3 separate regions of the Homo sapiens genome follow, and all the other regions are linked to region 2. The links are contacts of gene promoters, found by promoter capture Hi-C in blood cells and fetal thymus (Javierre and others, 2016). All regions are on one chromosome and are shown on one strand. The core of a region is centred on a gene start or on the middle of the fragment in contact, and the rest is flanking DNA. Distances in the headings are between cores, read along the strand shown.

Evidence for each region. Contacts are between HindIII fragments. The CHiCAGO score rates a contact against its expected background, and 5 or more counts as called.
Region 1: a contact is called between a fragment that was not itself captured here and the fragment with the promoter of KRT28 in region 2, in 4 of 17 cell types (M0 macrophages, M2 macrophages, endothelial precursors and 1 more). The highest score is 8.3, in M0 macrophages.
Region 3: a contact is called between a fragment that was not itself captured here and the fragment with the promoter of KRT28 in region 2, in 5 of 17 cell types (endothelial precursors, erythroblasts, M0 macrophages and 2 more). The highest score is 8.3, in endothelial precursors.

What each region holds. Positions count from the first base shown.
Region 1 is chr17:41,333,911-41,337,754 of GRCh38, reverse strand. No RefSeq gene overlaps it. Among named protein-coding and RNA genes, the nearest start is that of KRT33A, 15 kb to the left of the region's middle. The HindIII fragment of the contact is 1,879 bases long and covers 1,526-3,404 here.
Region 2 is chr17:40,797,760-40,801,657 of GRCh38, reverse strand. KRT28 (keratin 28) reads left to right here and starts at 1,699. Exons shown (of 8, transcript NM_181535.3): 1 at 1,699-2,214; 2 at 2,659-2,741; 3 at 3,267-3,423. The coding sequence starts at 1,765. LOC105371776 (a long non-coding RNA gene) reads right to left here and starts at 324. Exons shown (of 4, transcript XR_934753.2): 1 at 94-324. RefSeq lists an enhancer at 2,521-3,720. The HindIII fragment of the contact is 3,919 bases long and covers 1-3,435 here.
Region 3 is chr17:41,311,790-41,315,506 of GRCh38, reverse strand. KRTAP17-1 (keratin associated protein 17-1) reads left to right here. Exons shown (of 1, transcript NM_031964.2): 1 at 1-595. The coding sequence ends at 174. Among named protein-coding and RNA genes, the nearest start is that of KRTAP17-1, 2.1 kb to the left of the region's middle. The HindIII fragment of the contact is 744 bases long and covers 903-1,646 here.

The DNA.
Region 1 (3,844 bases), core at 1,216-3,715, 540 kb before region 2:
ACTGTAATTTTCATACTTACTATGATAAGGATAAGGTTAAGCGAGTCAAAGGTCACTTTATAAAAAATCTAGCTGCTTTTTTACAATAATTTAAAGCTCTCCTGGAAACACTATACAAGGTTTAAACAATGAGTATTTAAACAATGAGCCCCTCTATGATGGACTGGGAAGCACCATGTGTCAAGAGGAGCATGGCAATGCTATTAACCATAGAAGCATCAATAAAATATGTGTATGTTGCCAATGAGGACCACATTTGGGTTGGTTCGTTTCTCTAAGATATCTGTCTAGCCGATTCATTGTCTCAGGACATTTTGTTGCCCAGGATGCAGTTTTCTCTTTCAAATACACATCCCTGATTTTTACTGAGAATATCTTCCAATGATATTTTCTTTGTCAGAAATTTTGCAAATAAAAGTAGAAAGAAAAAAGGGATTTGTGGAGAGAGAGTTCCAAGATGGCAGGTGATGGAGTTTATGGTGGCATATGTGCCCCAAACAAAACGCAGGCCTGGGAAGGGCCTGGACAGCTTTTCCTGGAAATAGGAGACTGGGAATGGGAGGGAGTGTGGATTCAACATGGACCATCTTTTCCAGTCCTTACACCACTCTGACGTTAGTAACTCTAAAGCATTGCATACGTTTGCCTTCAGGGCTAGCTGAGGGGGCTTCTTTCCTCTCTCCTTCAAGAAAGGAGAGAGGGAAGAGGGTCTCTTGCTTCTCTACTCCTAGCTTCTTGCTGATGGGAAACTTCAGAGTTTCCCATGAGAATCTAATGCCTTATGATCTGTCACTGTCTCCCATCACCCCCAGATGGGATCATGTAGTTGCAGGAAAACAAACTCAAGGCTCCCACTGATCCTACATTATGGTTAGTTGTGTAATTTTTTCATTGTATATTACAATATATTAATAGTAGAAATAAAGTGCACAATAAATGTAATGGGCTTGAATCAGCCCCAAATCATAACTTTCCCTCTCCTCGGCCCATGGGAAAGTTGTTTTCCATGAAACTGGTCTCTGGTACCAAAAAGGCTGGGGACCACTGGTGTAAATGCTTCTAAGAATAGATAAGCAACTTAAGGTTTACAGGGTACTAAAAATATGGGTTTAAATGCTAATAAAACTGGATGCACATGAAAACACTCTCTTGCTGTGGTCCAGTGAATCTTGACCATTCTATCACAGAGACTTGCAGCTTTGAGTTGGAGCTGCCCCCTGGACCTCCTGTCCACAGCACACCCCTGCAACACACACACACATGCACATACATACATGTGCACATACCTGCACACATACACACACATGCTGTGCTTCATGCCCTCACTAAGGTGGCATGGGAGGGAATGAGTGTTTTTAAGAGAAATGAAGACAACTCAGGCTTCTTGTTCTCCTGGTGTTTGCACAAGTGCCTTCTCTGCAGACCATGCTTCAATCTCTTTCTTGGCTTTCCCTGTTAGTGAAAGAGACAAGCAGAGCCCCAGCATGTATCTGACTGCTTAGGGTCCAACCCAAGCTCACAAGCTTCCTGGGGAGCCTAGTGAGATGAAGGCACTGCAGAGCCTCCCAAAAAGAGGCATCAGCTTTTGGTGGAGACTTGAGCCCGGGAAGGTGGGACATCATGGTTCATCAAAGACACAACCAAAATCCAGTGAGGAATGGCAGCCATCAAAAGTTTTATTCTTCAAGAGAAGGAGTTCTCAGGGGCTGTGGGCAGCAGGCACAGAGCTCTTTAGTGCATGTGTGGGCAGGTGATGGTGACCTACAGTTTGCACTGGGAACTAAGATCAAGAGTGACCTGACCTCTGCTCATGCGCATCTCTCCCTGTCTCTCTCTCTACCTTTTATGTCTCTCTCCTTATCTCTCTCCCCACACTCCCTCTCAGCCTCCTCTGTCTCTGTCTCTCTCCCCATCTCTCTTTCTCTCTCTCACTCCTTTCTTCCCATGTCTCTTTCTCTCTCCTTCTCCACTTCTCTCTCCCTCCTCCTCTCCCTCTCTGCCACTGTTCAGGCTCCTGCCCACCCCTCCCTGCTGTGCAGAGAGGCACACGCAGGACTCCTAGGCTACCTTCCAGGGCACACGCACAAGGCTGCCGGGACTTGGTCCCAGTACAGTGCCCCCACCTCCCAGTGCCCTCAAGGTCAGGGGTGTGGGGTGTGCTTGTGCTCTCTTGGGTGGGCACCCCACTCTCCAGGAAGCAGAAGCTGCAGGTCACTGCTGGCTTGAGTGGCACGCCTATTGGACTGCTGGCTTCCATCCTGTGATCTGCCGAGGCCAAAACAGAGGACACCTGCCAAGGCCCCACCCTGCTCCAGGGTTGGGGTAGAGGTAGGGGTAGTGGTGGGGATGAGAGCAGCCACTGCAATCTGGTCCCTGCCCAGCATCCTGCCCTGCACCCTGCCATGCAAGGCCTCCTCTGCCACCCTTTCCCTGCCCCTCACCATCTTCACCCCTAGAAAGCCCCAGGCACAGGCTCCAGAAATCTCCCTGGATCCAGGAACTAAGAGCAACCACTGGGCTCCACAGCCCCTAGGCCAGGTGTCAGCCACACCCACTGCATGCTGACAAATCTTGGCTCTCACTTATGCCCCCCCGCAAGCCAGCCACACTCTGCCCCCACTCCCCCCACTTCCTGACTTTAGCCCTGACTGACAGTGCTGCCTCCTGGTAACCTTTCCCCCTCCCCACAAGGTCCAGGCAAGCCCAAATGCCAGCACCCGCCACCCACCCTTCCTGGGTGCCCCTCTATTGTCTGCTTGCCTAGATGTCTTAACCTCATTTTACCAAGCTAGAACAAATAACAGGGATGAGCCCCCAGCCTCTCCCAGGAAGATTTGGCAAAATGCTCTCCTTTTAGAAGCAGGAGCAGTGACAGGACCTAGGGATGACCCGAGGCTTGTCACCCAAGCAACAAGAAGGGCAAGGAGCCCAGTTTTATGACCTCACCTTGGGAGGACATGGCCAGGGCTCCACAAGGCCCTGTGGGGGGCTGGCAGGAGAACAGATCCACTCTCCTTTTGAGGAAGCAGGCCCCAACCCTAGGAAGCAGCAGATGGGGGCACACAGGCAGAGCTTCCGCAAGCTGTAGATCAGGGTCAGCAGATCTGCATTCAGCTTTAGCCCCAGGGGAGCTGCAAGACGTGAGACACTGATAGGTTTGGCTCTGTGTCCCCACCCAAATCTCATTTTGAGCTGTAATCCCCATGTGTCAAGGGAGGAACCTCATGGGAGGTGATTGTATTATAGGGGGCTGGGTTCCCCCATGCTGTTCCCCTGATAGTGAGTGAGTTCTCAGGAGAGCAGATGGTTTTAAAGCATGGCACTTCCTCGTTTTCTCACTCCCTCCTGCTGCCTTGTGAAGAAGATGCCCGCTTCCCCTTCGCCTTCCACCATGATTGCAAGCTTTCTGAACTGTGAGTCAATTCAACCTCTTTCCTTGATAAATTACCCAGTCTCAGGTATTTCTTCATAGCAGTGTGAAAACAAAACAAACTAAGACAGACCCCTTCTCTGAGGTGCCTTCTTCTGAGGCCACCAGCTGCCCCCATGCTCCTCCTCTGCCCCCTGGTCTTTCTTTTCCCCTCATGAGGCCCAAGTGATCTGCATGGCCAGCCCCAGCCCCATCCTACTGCAGGCCTGTCTAGCTGGTGGAGAGGCCGACCTCCTTTCCTGACCCTCAGGCTGGCTGATATGCTCTCTGGATCCTGGAGGAAACTGATTGTCTCTCCTCATACTGGTAGCAACTTCTTCCAAGACCACAAAGCTGGAAAACTGGTCTTTTTGTTGTCTCCGCTTGCTAGGGCTGTAGTTGGGACAGTACTAGAGGTGGGCCAATGGATGAATG
Region 2 (3,898 bases), core at 450-2,949:
CACAGCCCACTTCCCTCCTGTCTCCTGCCATCATGAGAAACTTCACGCCTTTATAGATGGTACATTTAATGTCACAGACAGATAGTTCCTGACCTCCTACTCTCTTGCCTTTCAGGTCCAATCCACTTCTGACTTCTTGTTCCAGTGACTGTTGGTCCACTCCCATGACTACTCTGTGGACTTTGGTGACACCTGGAGTTGTGCCTACTTTAAAATTCTAAATTCTGGTTTCCACTATCCAATTTTAGCCTGTCATCCTTCACCTTTATCAATCTCCTCCTCACACTCCGCCTGCTCCATGACCTCATAAGGATACCCAATGACTCACCCTCTGCCCTTTTCTTCAGTCCATCTGTCCCTCTGGTTTTACTTTCTTCTTGCTATATGATCATACAGTCAATCGCCTCAATTGTTTTCTCAAGAACACCAGAAATTTCTTTGCCACTATTTCCTTCTTCTGGACCTGTCTTCAAATCCCAAAACCCACATCAATCTGATCATCATCCTTTCTATTCCTGCACCAGGATTACTTCCAAATATGCAGTTGAACATCATTATAAATGAGAGCTGGACCCTCCAATTTTCTTTTACTCATTGCTAGTCAAGTATTTTTCCAGTTCAGTATACATATTCTAAACAGTCATTCTTGCTATCAGTCACCTTCATCTGGAACATTCTGGCAACCCCTCAAATCCAGTTGGTCCAAACCTAAACTCAGTGTCTTCCTCCTCCTCTATTCCCCATCTCAGTGAATATTATGAGTTCCCAGAATCTAAAATTAATTACCTAAGAGTTATCCCCAATTCTGCCTTATTCCCTACTCTCCAAATTCAATCATATTACCATATGCTCTCAAAGCCATCTTCTCTGCATCCCCACTGCCTTCATCCTTCTCACCTGGACCATTATTCCAACCTTGTAATTGACCACCTTGTTTCATTTCAACCTGATCATTTTGCCCTCTGCTTTTTACTTAGGATTCATTACAAACTCTTTAGACCAGCACAGAAAGCTAACCATGATCCAGCCCCTGTCTGGACCTGACAATAGATTTCTTAAAGATTGTAATCACGCATTTTTCACTTCTGCATTTAGTTAACACTATGTCTTTCATTTTAGCACTTAGCATAGAGCACCAAACATCATAACCATGCTATTTTAAACAAAATAATAGGTCAATATTTGTGTCATTGTCCAAGATAATAAATAGATGTTATAATCATGGTAAGAACAGAGATGTCACTAGCCTCTGTTTTCTAAATAACACATTTTTTTCTGGTGGGATAAAATATCTGTTTCTGTAATTAGCAGTCCTTTATACCCCTCCATGGTAATTGAGACCCTACTGTACCTCACAGAACTCTATCATAATCTTACTTAACTTTATAAAAAATTTGATAATACCTGGCGCCAGATAATGACAGTATATGCCTAGGGTCTAGATGAAAGGAAAGGATTACTCACTCAAAATTAGAAGTTAAATTAATAAACTTAATATAGAACAAACCCTATTATATTTAAGATAAGAAATAGCCCAAAGCAACACCGAGGGATGTTAGACATTAATTATTTTTAAAATCACCCAATTATACATAATTTTATGCTAATCTAAGTGATGCCATTTTGCTTTTGGCATGTATAACTCAAATAGGAACGCCCCAATAATGATATATAAAAACCCAAAGAAATTATCAGTGCATGATATTCTGTTCTCTTGGGACATTACAGTTTTGCATAGACAAGGTGAACATTTCTCAAAACACCATGTCTCTCCAATTTTCTAATGGATCCAGGCATGTTTGCTTAAGGTCTGGAGCTGGATCTGTCAGACCCCTCAATGGAGGTGCAGGCTTTGCAGGCAGCAGTGCATGTGGTGGCTCTGTTGCTGGAAGTGAATTTTCCTGTGCCTTGGGAGGGGGCTTGGGCAGTGTTCCTGGTGGGAGCCATGCTGGTGGTGCCCTTGGAAATGCTGCTTGTATTGGCTTTGCTGGAAGCGAAGGGGGACTCCTCTCTGGAAATGAGAAGGTGACCATGCAAAATCTTAATGACCGCTTGGCATCCTACCTGGATAATGTGCGAGCTCTGGAGGAGGCAAATGCTGAATTAGAGAGAAAAATCAAGGGTTGGTATGAAAAATACGGACCTGGATCTTGCCGTGGACTTGATCATGACTATAGCAGATATCACCTAACAATTGAGGATCTTAAGAATAAGGTGAGAAATCACAGATTTGGAACTAACCCAAGTATTTAAAACTAAGAAATACCTAACAAAAGACATACAATAAGAAATGCTTCATGACTGTTATAACTTGTATTTATTTATTTAGATAAACAATTCTTCCTACTATTCAAAAATGGGCCCTTTGATTCATGAATTTTAATGTAGTTAAAATGTTATTAGTTCCATTGTTTATGTTGAAGTACATTCATAGGCATATGAATAAAAAAGTATTGTAGTTCTAAATTTAGGGGAATATATGAGAATAAATAAAACCATGTCTTTAATTTTTAAAAGTTAAACTTGAAACATTTTGATTATTACATAAGGAGGTGAAATTTTTATGCAAAAACTTGAGTAACCTTTTTCATTTCCTGAAATAATGAATCACATAAAAGCATACTTACTTGTTGTGTTCTCTGTTTTGGTTTATTCTAGATTATCTCCTCCACTACTACTAATGCTAATGTCATTCTGCAGATTGATAATGCCAGACTGGCTGCTGATGATTTCAGGCTAAAGTAAGTGACAGAAGAAAATCCTGCTCTAGAAAAAAGTTTCTATTTATTTAATTTGTTAAATAAAATTTCTATTTCATCCCAAGTAGAATGAACTATCACCTAAAAGATAAAAGGAAGCAAAGGATTTGTATTATAATGTTACAATCAACTTATACATAGTTATTATATTCCTGGGACAAAATATCAATATATTTCTCTGCCTGCCTAGAATACTGCCAAGCACAAAGTAGATGCTCAGTAAATCATTAGTCAACTAAGGAAAAACGTTAACTAAAATAAAATTCCAAAATGGTGTATTTTTATTTAACTAGGTTATGCTATTGGAATTTGTGTGATGAAATAACTTCCAATTATCCTGTACAGAATTGAGTGGGGGTAATGCAGGAGCGCTTTCTTCATATATTTTTATACTATTTACAGTCCTAATTCAATTTCTAATTTTCAGTTTAAAGCAATTGGGATTGAATATTTCTGTTTCTTGGGGTAGTCTTACTGGCACTGAAATTCACTTAAATGCCCCCCAAGGTATGAAAATGAGCTCACCCTTCACCAAAACGTAGAGGCCGACATCAACGGATTACGGCGAGTCCTGGACGAGCTGACGCTCTGCAGGACCGACCAGGAGCTGCAATATGAGTCTCTGAGTGAGGAGATGACATATCTCAAAAAGAACCACGAAGAGGTAGGAGAAGCTTTACCTGTAGTCCAATCACAACTCTGTACATTTTAAATACTGGGCAGGGGTTGGGGGTTAAAATCACAATAGTAATTCAGGTTCATTGTTATAATTTGCCAACGGATACAGACAGATTAGTCTAATAATACTACCTACTACGAGGGGATGTTAAAAGGCTTCAATGAATTAATACATATCACACGCTCAGAACAGTGCCTGGCCTATAATAATCACTCAATAAATGACAGCGGTCATCCCTAGGATGAATGCCTATGAGGGCCAGGATTTCAGGATTTTTTCTACTGTTCTATTCCCATCAACCTGACATTTAGTCAGTAACTATATGTTGAGTAACTCTCCGGTCTTTAAATCCCTTTCTCATTTAAAAGAATAAATTACTTCTCTTGGGGTGCTATGACTGTTTTTGGTGGTGGTGGTAATTTTAATTAACAGGTCCCTAATTTTTTTTGTTTGTTTTCTA
Region 3 (3,717 bases), core at 25-2,524, 510 kb before region 2:
GGGGGCAGCTGCTGCGGATCGTCTTGCTGTGGATCTGGCTGCGGAGGCTGTGGAGGCTGCGGAGGCTGCGGGGGTGGCTGCTGTGGATCCAGTTGCTGTGGGTCCAGTTGCTGCGGCTCCGGGTGCTGTGGGCCTGTGTGCTGCCAGCCCACACCTATATGCGACACAAAATGAAGACCTTTCCCTCCACCACTGATGCAGTCCCACCGAAAGCCTCCATCTGCTCCAGGGGGACAGCCCCTCGTGTCCAGAACCTTCCATACCCCCAAGACAGTGTCTTGTCTTTCTGTGATTTGTAGAGGAGGGCTTGTTCTCCAACACCTTCTCTGGTATTTCAAGGCACCGAGAACAAGAGCCATACTCTGATGAAACATTAAAACTCGGTCACAACTAAGTGATCCCAAGCTCAAGGGTGAATCCCCAATACTTTACTTATTCACATGAAGTTCAATGTCTTGTACTATAAGACATCCTCTTCTTCAAGGTGTCTTTGGGACTGATCCTCCGCCCTGGCTTTCTGCAGCTTTGAGATGCAAAAAAGGTCCATCTTCTTTGTGAGCCTCTTAATAAATTTGAGCATGCTGGCATAACCTAATTAGTTCTCTTGCCTCTTCCTTGACCTCCCTGCTGAGGACTGGGTTAGAAAAATTCACTCTGGCATCTGCCTTAGGGTTTTTGAATTGTGGTTTTTGGATCACCTGCGTCGGAATCACCTGGGAGCTTGTTAAAACTGGAGACTCTGAGGCCCTCCCTAAGACATACAGAATCAGAATCCACCAAAGTGTGGCCTGGGAATCTGTGTTTTTAACAAGAACCTTAGATAATTCTTATGCACTGAAGTTTGAGAACCATAGATCTAGACGGAAGCTTCCGTGTGCTGCATGAGATTCACTTGAAAAGCTTTTAAAAATATAGATCATTGGGTTTTATCACTGGAGATTTTACCCGTTAGCTCTAGGGCCTAGAGTCCCTAGGGACCTGCATTTTTAAAAGCTCCTGGGTGAATGCTGATGCTGGCCACATTTAATGGTGATTGAGGGGCATGGCTTTCTTCTGCACTACAGCTCTCCTAGGATGGTTCTGCAGGAGGGCTTCAGGCTTGATCAGAACTTTCTGGCAAAGTCGGAAAGGAGGCTTTGGTAAAACAAGATTGGTTCTGAATGGAAAGGATTTCTAATGGCAAAGCTAGTGAATTCACAGTTTCTGAGGATGTTCTGCGCAGTACAGTTCCTTCTTCCAGCCTCATGCTTGGTCCAGTCTCACTTTTCTGTGCTAGGTTGTCTTACCTGGAACCAGCTACGTTTCTTCTGCCTGAGTTCTAAGGAGGAGGGAGTGAGTATACCTCTGCTAGGTAGGGCCCAGCCAAGGTGTGTGGGTCCACCTGGGAGGTTAAAACTCAAAAGACAGTTGATCAACCTTTTGTTGAAAGTGACCTTAAGCTGTGTGTGTAATAAAACTAATTTTGCTCTTGCCCTGGAAAAATAGTATTTATTTTTATGCCTACAAAGCGATGTTTCATTTGACAAAGAAAAATTTTTTTCTGATTATAAGCATAGCAATGAACTCTAAAAAATGAAAAAATACAGAAACATATAAAGAATATAGCATTCGAAGGCTCACCACTCAGAGTCTATTACTGATAAGCTTTCCAGACTGTTTTCTAAGCATAGTTATGAATAAAACTGGGATTATGTTGCTTTTACCTTTTTCTTTAAAAAATTTTTTTGTTTCATTTTTTATGGTCAACTTTATTGAAATATAATTTACATATAATAAAAAGTTCCCATTTTTAGTGAACAGTATGATGTGATCTGACATTCGTGTATACTTATGTAACCACCACTGCACTCAAGATCTTTATGGAACTTTCCATCACCCCCAAAATTCCCAGTTTGTCTTTGCAGTCAGTTCTTCCCCCACCCCCAGACCCTGGCAACCATCAACCTGTTCTTTATGTTACTACAGATTTCACCATGTCTAGAATTTCATATAAAAGAAATCATGCAGTATGCACTATTTTTCATTTTGCCTATCATGTTTTGTATCTGTTCATTGTTGCAGGTATCAATAATTCATTTTTTTTTCTACTGAATGGCATCCCATTATACAGATAAACTACATTAAAAATATATTCACCTACTTATGGGCATTTGGATTCTTTTGTGTTTCTGGCTATTATGAATGAAGCTGCTATGAGCATTCTCGTACAATTTTTTTTTTTTGGTGAACATATGCTTTGTTTTGGATAAATACTTAGCAATTGGATGGCTGTTTAAATGGTAAGTGAATGCTTAACCTTATGTGAAACTGCCGAGTTGTTTTGCAAAGTGGCCACAGCATTTTGTATTCCAACCAGCAATGTCTGAGAGTTCCAGTGTCTATGTCCTTGGTAACACTTAATATTATCAGTCTTTTTATTTCTAGCCATTCCAGCAGGTGTATAGTGGTAGCTCATTGTGTTTTCATTTTTTTCTTTCATTTATGAACCCAGCAGTATTATTAATGTCTTCTTTTGGAGAGAACCTGAGATTTGACTCTGCCTTGGTTCAGTTTCGGACTCTACTATTTGAGCCATTTTCACTCTGGCTGGAACTGGCTTCCTAGGAACTGGCTCTTTAACCCCTAAGACAAAGCCACCGCCAAAGCAGGAGCTGCCAATGGGACACACTTGTCCAGAGACCAGTGAATCTGCACTGAGTAGTTGTGATTCAGAGCAGCTGATTATTCTATTGCGCACGGTCATGCCTCCTGGATGCATGTGTGGCGGTAGTGATTTTTGAATTACTGATACAGGCTTGCCCTTCTTAGCTATCCACAGAGGTTCTCATTTATTCACTCAATAAATGCTAATCGTGTGCCTCCAATGTATCAGCTGCTGCTCTGGATGCTGGGTATGCATCTGTGAATAGACAAGGTCCTTGCCCTCATGGTGCTTATATGAGGTCAAGGGGTGATAAGAGCCATAAAGAAGAATAAAGTAGAAATGGGCTACATAGTTGAATGACCTGCCTTTTCATTTAGCAGGGAAGGATTCTTCGAAGAGATGACATTCCAGCACAATGGATGAGTTTCTTGGCTGAGAGAGTTTATGAGAAATTTGTTTGTGGGGCGGACTTCCATTCACTGCTGGTTTAGCTGAGGAAGAGAAGTGAATGGAAAAGAGAAGGGTCTCAGCATCTCCTCTGTGTTTGCCTCTGCAGGCCTGTCCAAAAGTCTTCTTTGCCCACTGCTTGAGAGCCACATTTAAAAGAATGGCACTCCCTGTTCCTAATCCTCCATTTTCAACTACCATGACCCGTCTCTCAGGTCTCTGAACCTGCCCAATTCAGGTTGTTGCCATGAAACTTCTAAGTGATTGCCACAGACCCCTAATGGTCTCCCTGCCTTCAGACTTGCCCTCAACCTCCCTTCTCCACATCCAGAGAGAGGGGACACATCCTTCTGAAAGGGCAACCCTGATCAAGTTACTCTCCTGCTTAAACCCTCATTATCATTAAAAAAATACAACTTCTTAATCATGGTCCACAAGACCTTTCATGATTGGGTGCCTAGTAACCCCTCTAGCCCCACTGCTTTTCCCTCCTATCCCCTCTGCTTTTCATCCTGGATATGTTGAACCATTTGCTGCTTCCCAAATGTTATGTGCTCTATGTCTTTGATTTCCACATCTTATCCTTTTCCTGCCTTTATGACCCCCTTTTTGTCCACTCTCTTTGA